3 separate regions of the Homo sapiens genome follow, and regions 1 and 3 are each linked to region 2. Evidence: promoter capture Hi-C in 16 types of primary human blood cells and fetal thymus (Javierre and others, 2016). All regions are on one chromosome and are shown on one strand. Each heading gives the region's core, a stretch centred on a gene start or on the middle of the fragment in contact. The rest is flanking DNA. Distances are from core to core; before and after follow the strand shown.

The links. Contacts are between HindIII fragments. The CHiCAGO score rates a contact against its expected background, and 5 or more counts as called.
Region 1: a contact is called between a fragment that was not itself captured here and the fragment with the promoter of CCDC89 in region 2, in 2 of 17 cell types (naive CD4 T cells and total CD8 T cells). The highest score is 6.1, in naive CD4 T cells.
Region 3: a fragment that was not itself captured here is called in contact with the fragment with the promoter of CCDC89 in region 2 in 6 of 17 cell types (total CD8 T cells, naive CD4 T cells, non-activated CD4 T cells and 3 more); the score reaches 9.9 in total CD8 T cells.

Annotation. Positions count from the first base shown.
Region 1 is chr11:85,756,643-85,760,861 of GRCh38, reverse strand. It overlaps SYTL2 (synaptotagmin like 2), which reads left to right. Exons shown (of 20, transcript NM_206927.4): 2 at 2,748-3,237. The coding sequence starts at 3,137. Among named protein-coding and RNA genes, the nearest start is that of SYTL2, 52 kb to the left of the region's middle. The HindIII fragment of the contact is 947 bases long and covers 2,206-3,152 here.
Region 2 is chr11:85,684,928-85,689,281 of GRCh38, reverse strand. It overlaps CCDC89 (coiled-coil domain containing 89), which reads left to right and starts at 3,087. Exons shown (of 1, transcript NM_152723.3): 1 at 3,087-4,354. The coding sequence starts at 3,152. The coding sequence ends at 4,276. RefSeq lists enhancers at 3,291-3,790, 3,791-4,292. The HindIII fragment of the contact is 2,434 bases long and covers 2,473-4,354 here.
Region 3 is chr11:85,798,730-85,802,935 of GRCh38, reverse strand. All of the region lies in intron 1 of SYTL2 (synaptotagmin like 2), which reads left to right. Among named protein-coding and RNA genes, the nearest start is that of SYTL2, 10 kb to the left of the region's middle. The HindIII fragment of the contact is 228 bases long and covers 1,403-1,630 here.

The DNA of each region.
Region 1 (4,219 bases), core at 1,430-3,929, 72 kb before region 2:
TCCTTTGTAAAGTGGAAACATTGCCCTTTGCCTCACTAACAGCCTATTTTAAGGGAGAAATTTTAACCCTCAGAGCTTTGACACAGAAGCACTTGTTAGGTTGTATTCTGCTTGAAGGCGTGGAAGCCAATGTTGCCCATTTCAGCAACCCTGCCAGTTACCACTGCTAGACGACCTAAGTTTTTCATTGTTGTTGTTTTCTTCCTGTCCACCACTCCTTGAATTTAAAGTCTCACATCGAACCAACCAAATGGCAGTGTAAGACCTCATTGGGAACCTGGGTCCCAGAATGTGGCCTAAATCTATTTTCTTGCCAGCTTTTGAGATCTAAGGAAGTTACTGCACGTGAAAGAAAGGAAATAATTGAGATAGCCATCTCTTGGTGATATTGTATATTTGAATCAGGTTCATTTATTCATTTGCTCATTCTTTTATTTGTTCACATTCAGAGACTCACAATCAAGAGAGACTGAGAGTAGATCATCACAGCAGTGGATGTGTATTTGGAGGAGAAAGTGTTTGTATTAGCAGGTTCCTGCTGCGGGAGTATCGTATAACAACTCCCAAACCTCAGTGGCTTCCAACAACAAATACTTAGTTTTTTCTTTTATATCTATAGGTCAGCAGGGATACCTGCTTCAGGGAGGTCAGGTTCAGGTCTGTCCTTTTATCTCTTTCTGGAACCCAGGATGAAGAGGCAATGAATAACTGGGACAAGCTCTTCTCATGGCATGTGGCAGGAATACAAGAAGCCAGATCAAACCACAAAAGCACATTTACAGCCTATGCTTGCATCACATTTGCTAACATTCCATTGGCCAAAGCGAGTCACAGGCCAAGCCCAACATTAGGAGGATAGGGATGAATTCTTTGCTTACTCTGGTGGGAACATGATAGTATAGTTCTGTTACAGGGAGGAAATGAAGAGTTAGGAATAATCATTGAATCTGCTGCAACTTTAACTTGGGGTATGGAAGTTATGGAAGGCTTCATGGAGGTGGTAACTTTGATTTGTCTTGAAGGGTAAGTAGTTTTCAAGATGAACAAGCAGGTAGTAGCATATGCAAGCACATGCAAATTAAAAAGAAAATGAAGTAATGTCTTAATATTTATTTGAGTAATTACTGTGGACAGTATGCAGAGAGCTAGAGGAAATTAAAACAAAGGTCATTAGATTCCCTGTCAATGAAGCCCAAACTTCATGGGGGGAGATCAGAAAGAGACATAATACAAAAGAGAAATATATTACTAAGTATAGTCTTATTCAGCTGGATGGAAAAAAAGTGTGAACTCAGAGCGGAAGCTAGAATATAGTTTTAGTAGCTATTTTTGGTACAGAATGCAAGACATGTGCTCTTTTTATATTCATTATTTCATTTAATCCTTACAATCTGTGAGGGACATCCTAATGTCAAGCACAAATGAGAAAACAGCTTCACAGTGGTCGGTAACTTGCCCAATGACTTATAGCTAGTAAGTGGTAGAAGGATAACTTCCCAGTAATTCTGTTTTTCAAGTAATTAATTTTTATAAATTTTATTCACTAATGTACATACTGTTTTATTCTTAAGTGGGGCTGCTTTAAAATTTTTTTTTCTTTCTTTTTTTTTTTTTTTGATAAGGAGTCTCACTCTGTCACCCAGGCTGGAGTGCAGTGGTGTGATCCCGGCTCACTGCAACCTCCGCCTCCCGGGTTCAAGAGATTCTCCTGCCTCAGCCTCCTGAGTAGCTGGGATTACAGGCGTGTGTCACCACACCCAGCTAATTTTTGTATTTTTTAGTAGAGACGGGGTTTCACCATGTTGGTCAGGCTGGTCTCGAACTCCTGACCTCAGGTGATCCACCCACCTTGGCCTCCCAAAGTGCTAGGATTACAGGCATGAACCACTGCACCCAGCCTGCTTTAAAATTTACTAAAGGTTTTTAGTGTGTATGTTCAGCACTGCACTTGTTAAAAGTGCCCCAACCTTGAGTGGATCACCTCCGAATTTCTGTAGGGCTGTGTCATTCTTCACTTCTCACTTCCTTCCCATTACATATGTATTGAAGATGCCTCAAAGAAAATAGGATTCTTGCACATTGTGCAACTGAAAAATCCTCACTTTGGATGGTGAGGTGTTTTGAAACTCTGCCTCTTCCTTTCCTCCAGTTTATATACACACACAGGTAGGTGTTTTTCCCCTGAGAAATGAAAGTAGACAAGCTTGTTAGGTTCCTCTAGGTCCAGCAAAGGTTAGCAGTGAGACTGGATGAAGAATAACAATTCTCACTCTTCTGCAAACTATCTCTATCTAATACTAGTTCTCCTGTTAATATGGAGCACATATATAGTACAGTGGAATATTCTTACTTGTGAAGAGGTGAGCATTTAAAATTTTTATTTCTAGATTCTTGCTTGACCACTGGAATCACATATCCCTGATCTTACTGACCTTTAACATGACTTTTTAGCCTAGCATCCCCAGAGTTTGCAGAGAGAGAACCAGTTCATTTTTGCAACCATCCTTTACTCAGGTGGATCGTTAAACACTGACAGGCATTTTTGTGGGTTCTCCATCTTGGCCGTCTGGAATAGGGTTGAAGCATGTTTCATGACCCATTTACCATTTGCTCAGGAAGCTGGCTGAACTGGTTTCCTTGATCTCAGAGACCATCTCGCATGGCCATTTAAAAATCTTGTAGTAATGAGTAGTGCTTATAGGAACTGCCTCTCACTGTCTGGTGTTTGCTGTCTCATGATTCCCCAGGTAGGTGATGCTCTGATGCTGCTGCCTCTTATGAATTGACGACAGGTGCAGAGAGAGAATAAACTGTGTCTAAGACTGGACCAGAGAGTGAGTGTGCTGGAAGCCACCATAGGAACAAGCGACCTGTTTGGCAAGGAATACAGCATCCTTCTGAGAGCCTCTTCTCGACACTATCCCACAGACCAGGACTTCCTCATGGGAAAGAGCACTTAGGATCTTGCTATCAGCTGCCCTAAACTTTTGCTGAGCCAAAATAAGACTTTGATGCAGAACTGAACAAGATATTTCATTTTTGTGTGTTTTAATCTTCCTGGTTGCAGTCTTAGTTGTTCAGCCCTGAGAATTTTGAGCCACATTTGTTGCTATTATTTTTGCATGCACTTTTCAAAATGATTGACTTAAGCTTCCTGACTGAAGAGGAACAAGAGGCCATCATGAAGGTTTTGCAGCGGGATGCTGCTCTGAAGAGGGCCGAAGAAGAGAGAGTCAGGTAAGAGGCCAGAGAAGCCTTGGGCATGAGGGAAGGAAGAGGCAGTCTGTACGAAAATAGGACACTGGGGTTTTTTTCAACTATAAGTGGTAGTTCTGACTCGAAGACTGAATTTATGGATTCCAATTTTAGGTTTACTTCCTGGACAAAACATTTTTCCTCTTGGTGCCTCTTAATTTATCCTACTGGACTCCTACCAGAAATAGGGTCTTGATTAAAAACCTAACTAAATTCCTTTAACTTATTAAATACTGAGATAAAAATGAAATGTATACAACCACATACATCTACATTTGTGTGTGTGTGTGTATTTCTATCCACTTAAAAAAACTGGATCTACTTTTTTTTAACTGAATCATGAACCAAATTAGAATTTTAAAAAATTTTTAGAATTTTGAAAAGAAAATAAATTAAACTAGCTCACATTTCTGCATGCTTTCAGAAATGTTGGAATTGGTTTTAATGGCAACTGAAAGTATTCTCTGAGCCAATTTTTCATTTGTCTTGGGTCCCATAAAGAGGAGTGGCAACTTTGATACACTATTCTTGTTGGGTGGAACCCAAATGTTCCATGTCAACATTCCTGCCACTTTCATTCACCTTTGTTGTCAAACAAGCACTAGGCCAGGATGCTGAAGAACTTGACTTTGTCCAGGCCCTGCCATTTACTGCCTGTGTAATCTTGGGCTTTGAAGGCAGCGACAGGCTTCCTGAATGTAAGTTAGTATTATTAATTTTATGATTCTCGCTCCAGGAGTTATCCAAAAGGAGCATAAGATATGTTCTTACTTCCTGGGACACAGGACCATGAATAATGGCTTTATTTTTACCATTTCCGTATCTTGACACTGATTTAACGTGGATGATTTATAAAAGAACATGCTAGAATTCACTTCAACCACTACAGAATGTCTGATTATGACTACTAAAATAACTTCTATATAGACAGTATTTAACAAGTTGCAAAGGGCTTAACATGCCC
Region 2 (4,354 bases), core at 1,838-4,337:
TTTCAATGTTTGTAAGACCCTTTTATTTAAGAGGACCATTCTAATTTTCTAGTCATTTGCCTTGAAAATAACTAGACGAACTCCATTTACGCATATGAAGCTTGAAATTTAAGGAAAAGGACAAGAGAAATGTGGGAAAATTACAAATAAGTTTAATTCACATTTTTAAAGTCTTTGGAATTCACTTTCACAAAACTTCAATATCCTACTGTTTATGTAGTTGTTAAAATTTCAGCTTAGGAAATTTCCCCAGTCTTCAATCTTGGTTTCCATATATAGACAAGAAATTCAGGATTTGAAACATGAGACCTTGATCTTTGACAGTGAGGGAAGAACCTGAAACTCTTCTTTCAGATTTGTTTCGCTCCCAGTGAAATCTGAAGCATTTAAAAATTCATCTCATATCTATAATGACACCCAGGGTTTTTCCTTATCATCATGACTTGGGAGATAGTAAATCTGATCACCAGAAACTGTGACCACAAGAATAGTCAACTCTTTTCCCTACCCTTAATTTTCACAGGATTGAAATCATCTGAATTTTAAGTTTTGTATTTTGCCTTTTTCAGTTGTATTTCTAACATAAGACTTTTCCATGCTATTAAAAATTACCTATAAATGTAATAAGTTCTAGTGGCTGTACAATATTTTTTGTATGAATATATCATAATTTTTGTAACCATTCCCTTTTTTTTTTGAAAACTTGGGTTTCCAACTTTTAGTTGTTACAAACCACACTACAATGAAAAGTTTTGAGCAAAATGTTTTCTTTCAGATTATTTCCTAAGCAAAGATCTCCGCAGAAGAATTACTAGTTCGGAAGCCATAAAAATATCTTAATTTCTCAGTACCTACTGTCAACTGACTTTCACCAACAGTTTAAGAGAGTGCCTATTTCAATACTCCTTTCTAGTCCTGGCTTGTCTTAAGAGAAAATTTTTTGACTAATTTGATACGTGAAATTATATCTTTTTTTTTTTTTTTTTTTTTTTGAGACGGAGTCTCGCTTTGTTGCCCAGGCTGGAGTGCAGTGGCGCGATCTCGGCTCACTGCAAGCTCCGCCTCCCGGGTTCACGCCATTGTCCTGCCTCAGCCTCCTGAGTAGCTGGGACTACAGGCGCCTGCCACCACGCCTGGCTAATTTTTTGTATTTTTTTGGTAGAGACGGAGTTTCACCGTGTTAGCCAGGATGGTCTCAATGTCCTGACCTCGTGATCCGCCTGCCTCGGCCTCCCAAAGTGCTGGGATTACAGGCGTGAGCCACCACACCCGGCCGAAATTATGTCTAATTTTAACTTGTATTTATTGGATCACTGTAGACGTTCAGTTCTTGGCCATTTTTGTGAATTTAATTGTTTATTTTTTAGATGTTAATGTTTCGTTGATATGTATAAAATATTTATTTAAAAAAGGTAGTGTCTGGGCTGGGTGCGATGGCTCATGCCTGTAATCTCAGCACTTTGGGAGGCTGAGGCGGGTGGATCATTTAAGGTCAGGAGTTCAAGACCAGCTTGACCAACATGGTTAAACTCCGTCTCTACTAAAAATACAAAAATTAGCCAGGTGTGGTTGTATGTAATTGTAATCCCAGCTACTCAGGAGACTGAGGCAGGAGAATTGCTTGAGCCCGGGAGGCGGAGGTTGCAGTGAATCGAGATCGTACCACTGCACTCCAGCCTGGGCGATGGAGGGAGACTCTGTCTCAAAAAAAAAAAAAAAAAAAAAAAAAAAGTAGTGTCTGTCATATTAGGGATATTTTTCTCAATTTGATTTTTACCTTCAACATCCACTTAATACACATTTATCTGAATCTCCCCCATGTGCCAGGCACTAGTCTAATCATCAAGGATGAAATAGACACAGTCCCTGCCCTTAAGGATCTTACAGTCTAACAGAGGGAAGCTGGCAGATAAACAGTGACTGCAATAAAATTTTCACATCCTCCACCAGAAGTACAAATAGCTATAGCGGATGCACTAAAAGATGTGAGTGACCAATTGGACATGTAGGGGCCAGGAATAGGCTTCAGAGACGATTCTTAACTAAGAATAAAAAGCTTTACTAGAGTGACAAGGGACAAAGTAGGAAAGGCATTCCAAGTAGAGGAACACCTAAAGATAGGGCGAGAGAGCTGGTTAGTGGATTTGGGTTTGGCTTCAATATTTGGGTTTGAGGAGTAAAATGTCAAGAAAATCCAGTGGAAGAAGGGGCTGGAGAGACCTCAGAAGTCACATAATTTAAAAAATTATACATAACTTTTTGAGTAAGCTTTCCCTTTCTGATCTTACATAATGTTTAAGATAAAAAAAAAATCCTTCCTAGCCCCAGAGATTTGATGTTTACCTTCATTTTCTTCTAGTTTCTGTTTACATTTAACTAATCTATCAGGAGTTGACTTTGGCATATAATGGCAAGCTTCATTTGAATCTTATTTTTTCTGTTTTAATGTTTATCTGTGTGGTTCACTAAGCTTCTTTCTGTAACCTTATTTTGCTAATGGGTAAAAACAGGGGGTGTTAAATATCTAATAAAGAGTATTTATGCCCAGGTGGGGACAATGCTAAGAACAACAAAAGAAATTTCACTGGTGTTTTCTATTTTAATACTTAAATACCAAAAGGGAGCTGTGCCAAACATCACGGGTGCAGATATGCAGGCTTTTAGGGTCCTGGCTCTCAGAATACCACTACTACTTTGTATTCATAGACTGAAATTTTTTGAGGAGCCAACCATGTTTCCACAAACAGTAATTTATTCAAACGATAACTGAAGAGGGGAGAGGGAGGATAAATATATCATTGCCTGCTTCATTTGTTTACTACTACCAGAAATTAGGTGGAGTCAGGCTTCCTCCCCTGATGCTGGCTGGAGATTGAGTGGGGTTGGCATCTCTGTGCTGTACAGGCCAGACACTGAGACAGTTGACAACTGAGAGCTGTGATTGGTTAGAAAGGCAAAAGTAACCCGACCAGATTGGCTCTGGACTCCCCCAGATTCCCCTGTTGTTACTTCATAGCATTCTGAAGACCTGTCCACCAATTACAGGGCTCCTTACTGGAAAAACCAACTGCTGGGGAGTGCCAAGAGTCCCTAGCAACACCCTGCAGCGTTTGAAATCTGAGGGGAAAAGACTGTAGTCAGCCCTTAGTGGATGAGAGCGCCTATGCTCCAGAAACAGCAGGCTCCCAGGATGGACACCCCGCCCCCTGAAGAACGCTTAGAGAAGCAAAATGAAAAACTGAACAACCAGGAAGAGGAGACGGAGTTTAAGGAACTGGACGGTCTGAGGGAAGCCTTGGCAAACCTCCGGGGACTGTCAGAGGAGGAGAGGAGCGAGAAGGCTATGCTTCGCTCCCGCATTGAAGAGCAGTCCCAGCTCATCTGCATCCTGAAGCGGAGGTCAGATGAGGCCCTGGAGCGCTGCCAGATCCTAGAGCTGCTCAATGCAGAGCTGGAGGAGAAGATGATGCAGGAGGCTGAGAAGCTCAAGGCCCAGGGTGAGTACAGTCGGAAACTAGAGGAACGCTTTATGACCCTAGCAGCCAACCACGAGTTGATGCTCCGCTTCAAGGATGAATACAAGAGTGAGAACATCAAGCTGAGGGAGGAGAATGAGAAGCTGAGGCTGGAGAATAGCAGCCTCTTCAGCCAGGCTCTGAAGGATGAGGAGGCGAAAGTATTACAGCTCACAGTCCGGTGTGAGGCCCTCACTGGGGAGCTAGAAACGCTGAAGGAGAGGTGTGCTCAGGATGCCTGCCAGGCACAGGCGCGCGAGAAGGAGCTGCTGGAGCTACAGAGCCAGCAGGCCTGCACCCACACCAAGGAGACAGAACAGCTGCGCAGCCAGCTGCAGACCCTCAAGCAGCAGCACCAGCAGGCTGTGGAGCAGATAGCTAAGGCAGAGGAGACACACAGCAGCCTGAGCCAGGAGCTGCAGGCCAGGCTGCAGACCGTCACTAGAGAGAAAGAGGAGTTGCTGCAGCTGTCCATTGAAAGGGGCAAAGTGCTTCAGAACAAACAGGCAGAGATCTGCCAGCTTGAGGAAAAGTTGGAGATAGCAAATGAAGACAGGAAGCATGCGCTGGAGCGGTTTGAGCAAGAGGCAGTGGCTGTGGACAGCAACTTGAGAGTCAGGGAGCTTCAGCGCAAAGTAGATGGGATCCAGAAGGCCTACGATGAACTCAGGCTGCAGTCTGAAGCCTTCAAAAAGCACAGCTTGGATCTTTTAAGCAAGGAGAGAGAACTCAATGGCAAACTCCGCCATCTCTCTCCATAGGGAAGTTTCTGCTTCCTCTGGCCTGCAATTCAGAATTCAAATATTTGCGTCTTAGCATTATGGCAAGAGTAAAGATGA
Region 3 (4,206 bases), core at 267-2,766, 120 kb before region 2:
TAAACTTGGCTTTGGAATAAGATAAGCTTGAATTTAAACATGAATGCACTTACTAGTTGTGTTATAAAGCAACTAATTTAACTGTGGTTAGCAGCTTTTGAGTTTCTTTGGGATAGGACTCTCAACTTCCTTTTCTGCAAAAATTGCATTCATTTTCTCACAAGATGGGGTAATAAATATATTAAAGCCTCTGACTTTGTGTCTTGCATAGAGTCACTATTCAATAAATGTCAGTTCTATTCATTTTCCTTTTCTTCCTTTCCTTTCTCTCTTCCCTTCTCTTTCTTTCCTCTCTTTCCTTCTCTTTCCTTCCCTTCCTCTTGGCTATTGAAGGTGACAATGGTGAAGTAGTACTTACAGTACAGTGTGGTAAGTGTTCTAGTTAGAAATGCATACAGCTTATTGTGAGATTGCTGAGAGAGCAACTGCCAGGGAAAGTAGGAAGGTGACAGATAAGCTAGACCTATGGCTGAGTAGGAGTTTGCTAGGTTAAGAAGAGACTGAGGGCTGGGTGCATTGGCTCATGCCTGTAATCCTAGCACTTTGGGAGGCTGGGCCTGGTGGTGGGCACCTGTAATTCCAGCTACTTGGGAGGCTGAGGCAGGAGAATTGCTTGAACCTGGGAGGCAGAGGTTGCAGTGAGCTGAGATCATGCCACTGCACTCCAGCCTGGGTGACAGAGCAAGGCTCCGGCTCACAAAAAAAAAAAAAAAAAGAAAAGAAAAAGAAGAAAAGAGAGTGTGGTGGGGAGGAAACGTTGAAGGATGTTTCAAGTTCAAAGCCATGGAGGCAGGGAGAGAAGGGATACCAGGAGAATGGGGAGGCCAGGCACGGTGGCCCATGCCTGTATTCCCAGCACTTTGGGAGCCTGAGGCGTGTGGATCACAAGGTCATGAGTTCAAGACCAGCCTGGCTAACATAGTAAAACCCCATCTCTACTAAAAATACAAAAACTTAGCCGGGCATGGTGGTGGGTGCCTGTAATCCCAGCTACTCTGGAGGCTGAGGCAGGAGTATCGCTTGAACCTGGGAGGTGGAGTTTGCAGTGAGCCGAGATCGCGCCATTGCACTCCAGCGACAGTGTAAGACTCCATCTGAAAAAAAAAAAAAAAAGAACGGGGAAGAGACTACTGAGTTGGCACACAGGACAGGTAAATTATGGTTGGTGGCGCTGCTAATGTAGTGGAGTTTCACCAAAGACCAAAGGTGAAATGAGGCTACAATCTGACCCTTTATCTTGGAGGCTGCCCTTTATCTTTGAAGTTTCTCAATATTGTAAGTGAGATAATGAAATTTCTCTTTAGGATAATAACACTGCTCACAGTATGAAAGATGGGTTTGGGGTTGATTGGCATACTTGTTTGCACTTGTGTGTACAGAGGAGATAACATATATTAAAGCTTTTTTGGTAAAAGGTAATGGTACTTGTAGAGATGGTGCTGCTATTCAAGACTTCTATAGGAGAGTACATAATGTGTTGGAAAATGGTGACTCCATATGCTAATTTATGGACTGGATCACATTGGAGCCAAATTGTTCCAAAAATATAAATATGTCTTACCTTGAGTTAAGCATGTTTACCACTTTTCAACAAAGGACCAGGTGTGTTTCTGGCAAAATGATTGAAGCTTGAATCCAGAAAAAAAAAGTTTAAGGCCCCTTTTTGTATTTCCAAAATTGAGTTTAAGGTTCTAGGGATAGTAGATACCTAATGCATGCTGAATTTGGTTAGTGCTTTGTAGAATTTCTTGTGCTTAGCATGCACTATTGTGGTTAGCAGCTGTTGAGTTTCTTAGAGGGAGGAGCAGAGAGGCTCAGACTACAAAACTATCATCTATGGGAAATGGCAAGAAGCTAGGTGGCCCTTCTCCCTAAGCAGTCAGGATCAGACCCAGGTACACACAGATGTGTGTTTCTGTGTTTCTAGCCCTGTGTTTATGTTTTCCGGATAGTTGCCTGCTTTATCTATGCTGGAGGGAAAACCCGACATTACCTGGGTTCCTTGGGGAAAGCCACTGGGGAGATTAGCCTTGGTTACTAGAGGTGCCTCAATGTGAAGACAGTCACCTGCATCTGCACTTGAACTATTAATAATGTGTGGCCAGGAGCCAAGGGTGTGGAGGAGACGTGGCTCTACCGGTCAGATTCTGCAGGGGACAGATGTGACCCTGTTGTGGAACTGAGCACAGGTATTTGCTTGGTGTGTGAGGAAGTGAGGAGGGAGTGGATGTGTTTGTTTTTTTCCTTCTCTGGCATACTTTTTCCAAGTCCACTCTCTCAGCAGCCAGGAACTAAAAGCAAGTCTTGGGCTGACATTCAGTGCATAGGGAGTAAGTTGTACCTTTTAAATTCCTGGGGGCCAGGCATAGTGGCTCATTCCTGTAATCTCAGCAGTTTGGGAGGCTGAGGTGGGAGGATTGCTTGAACCCAGGAGTTTGAGACCAGCCTGAGCAACATAGCAAGACCCCATCTCTACAGAAAAATAGAAAAAAATTAGCAGGGCATGTTGGTGCACACCTGTAGTCCCAGCTACTCAGGAGGCTGAAGTGGGAGGATCACTTGAGCCTGGGATATCAAGGGTGCAGTGAGCCATGATTGTGCTGCTGAACTCCAGCCTGGGCGGCAGAAACCCAGGAAACTCTTGGAGACATCCTACATTGGGGTTTTGGAATACTAGACCTTTGAACCTGGACTCTTTCATGTGCCAATCCCCAAGCCCTTTCACTGTGTTAGTCAAGTCTCAGTCTAGTCCTTTGATAGATTCTGGTTTGGTCTCTTTACTTTGAGACCAAAGCACCAAAACTGATGAACTGTGTGTGGGAATGGTTAGGTCCTTGAGGGTGTGTTTGTGTGCATCACTACCTGTAGATGCAGTGACCAAGGGTGTGAGCTTAGTTTAATACTTAAGTATGGTATGATTGATCTTTACAGAAAATCTCTTGCTATTCTCTTTAAACTATTATTAAACAGTGAACATTTGTTGATAAAAGGGTCAGCATGCTGTAGTGGGAAGAATATCAGATTTAGAGGCAAGAGTTAATTTATTTGATAGATACTCACTGAGTGTTTTCTATGTTTGTGTGCCAAATTGTTTTAGGCTCAGAGTCCAGTGGGGAAAATAGATATCTGTAATTACCACTCAGTGTGATGTTCATAGTCAGATGTGAGCACAGAGGAAGGAGGTGGGGTGGTAAGAGGGAAGGGAGATCAAGTGCCAAGGTAGGGCTTCCTGGAAGAGGTGGCATTTGAGAGGCGATCTGGGTGAATAAGAATCAGAAGGTCAAAAGGCTGGGAAATAGCATGGCAAGCATGGTTTCATGTTCAAGGTAAGGCTGGCAGGAGCTGAGGCCAGTGAAGTAGGTAGTGGGCTGATCATGAAGAGTGTAGTACATGTTATTAAGGAGATTGGATGCTTTTTATGGACTTTTAGTCCCTTTTGTTGAGCTCTTCCTAACCCTGTTTCTAACTCTGAAATCCTAGCTGTTCTTAAAACTGCAGCTCTATGCTAATTCTTCCTGAAATCTTCCTGGTTCATCATGGCAGGAAGTTTTCTTTCCCTCCTCTAACTGGTTTAGTGTTCGGCTTATACCTCTTTTATGGCCATCATCACATACCACTGTGTGTTATCATTCTTTATGTCCTCATCTTATCTTCCCTTTTGTTCCAAAAGTTCTTAGAGCGCTGGGACTAAAGGGACTTACTATTTCCTTAATGCCCAAAGCCCAGAAGGCTGAGATAGTACAAGTGTGTTAAATGAATATATTTTGAAGTGCTAAGTTATGTTCCCTGTCTTTTTAAGGTTTTTAGTACATTGATGGGCTTTAAGAATTTAGTGGTCAATGGGCAGTTATCAATTAATTAGATATTTGGCTTTTTATTCTCATGTGTGCAGAAAAGAATTAACATAGTGGGTGTGAAACTGCCTGTCCATAGAAAGGCCTGCTTGCAAGTTGGCCTTTGGCTGGCATTAGGGAACTTGGATTTCAGGAGGATTCCCACAAATCTAAATGATTGAGTAGCTCACTGTGCCTAAACTGTTTGTGCAAGCAATATGGTTTATGCCGAGCACCTGCTTTTCTTCTGGGAGTCTGGAATTTGGGTACATGCCAGGGAAGGGGTGCCTACATGACTTGTCCCCATTAAAAACTCTGGGCACTGAATCTCTAATGAACAGTCTGGTTGGTAACATTTCAGATGCATTGTCAC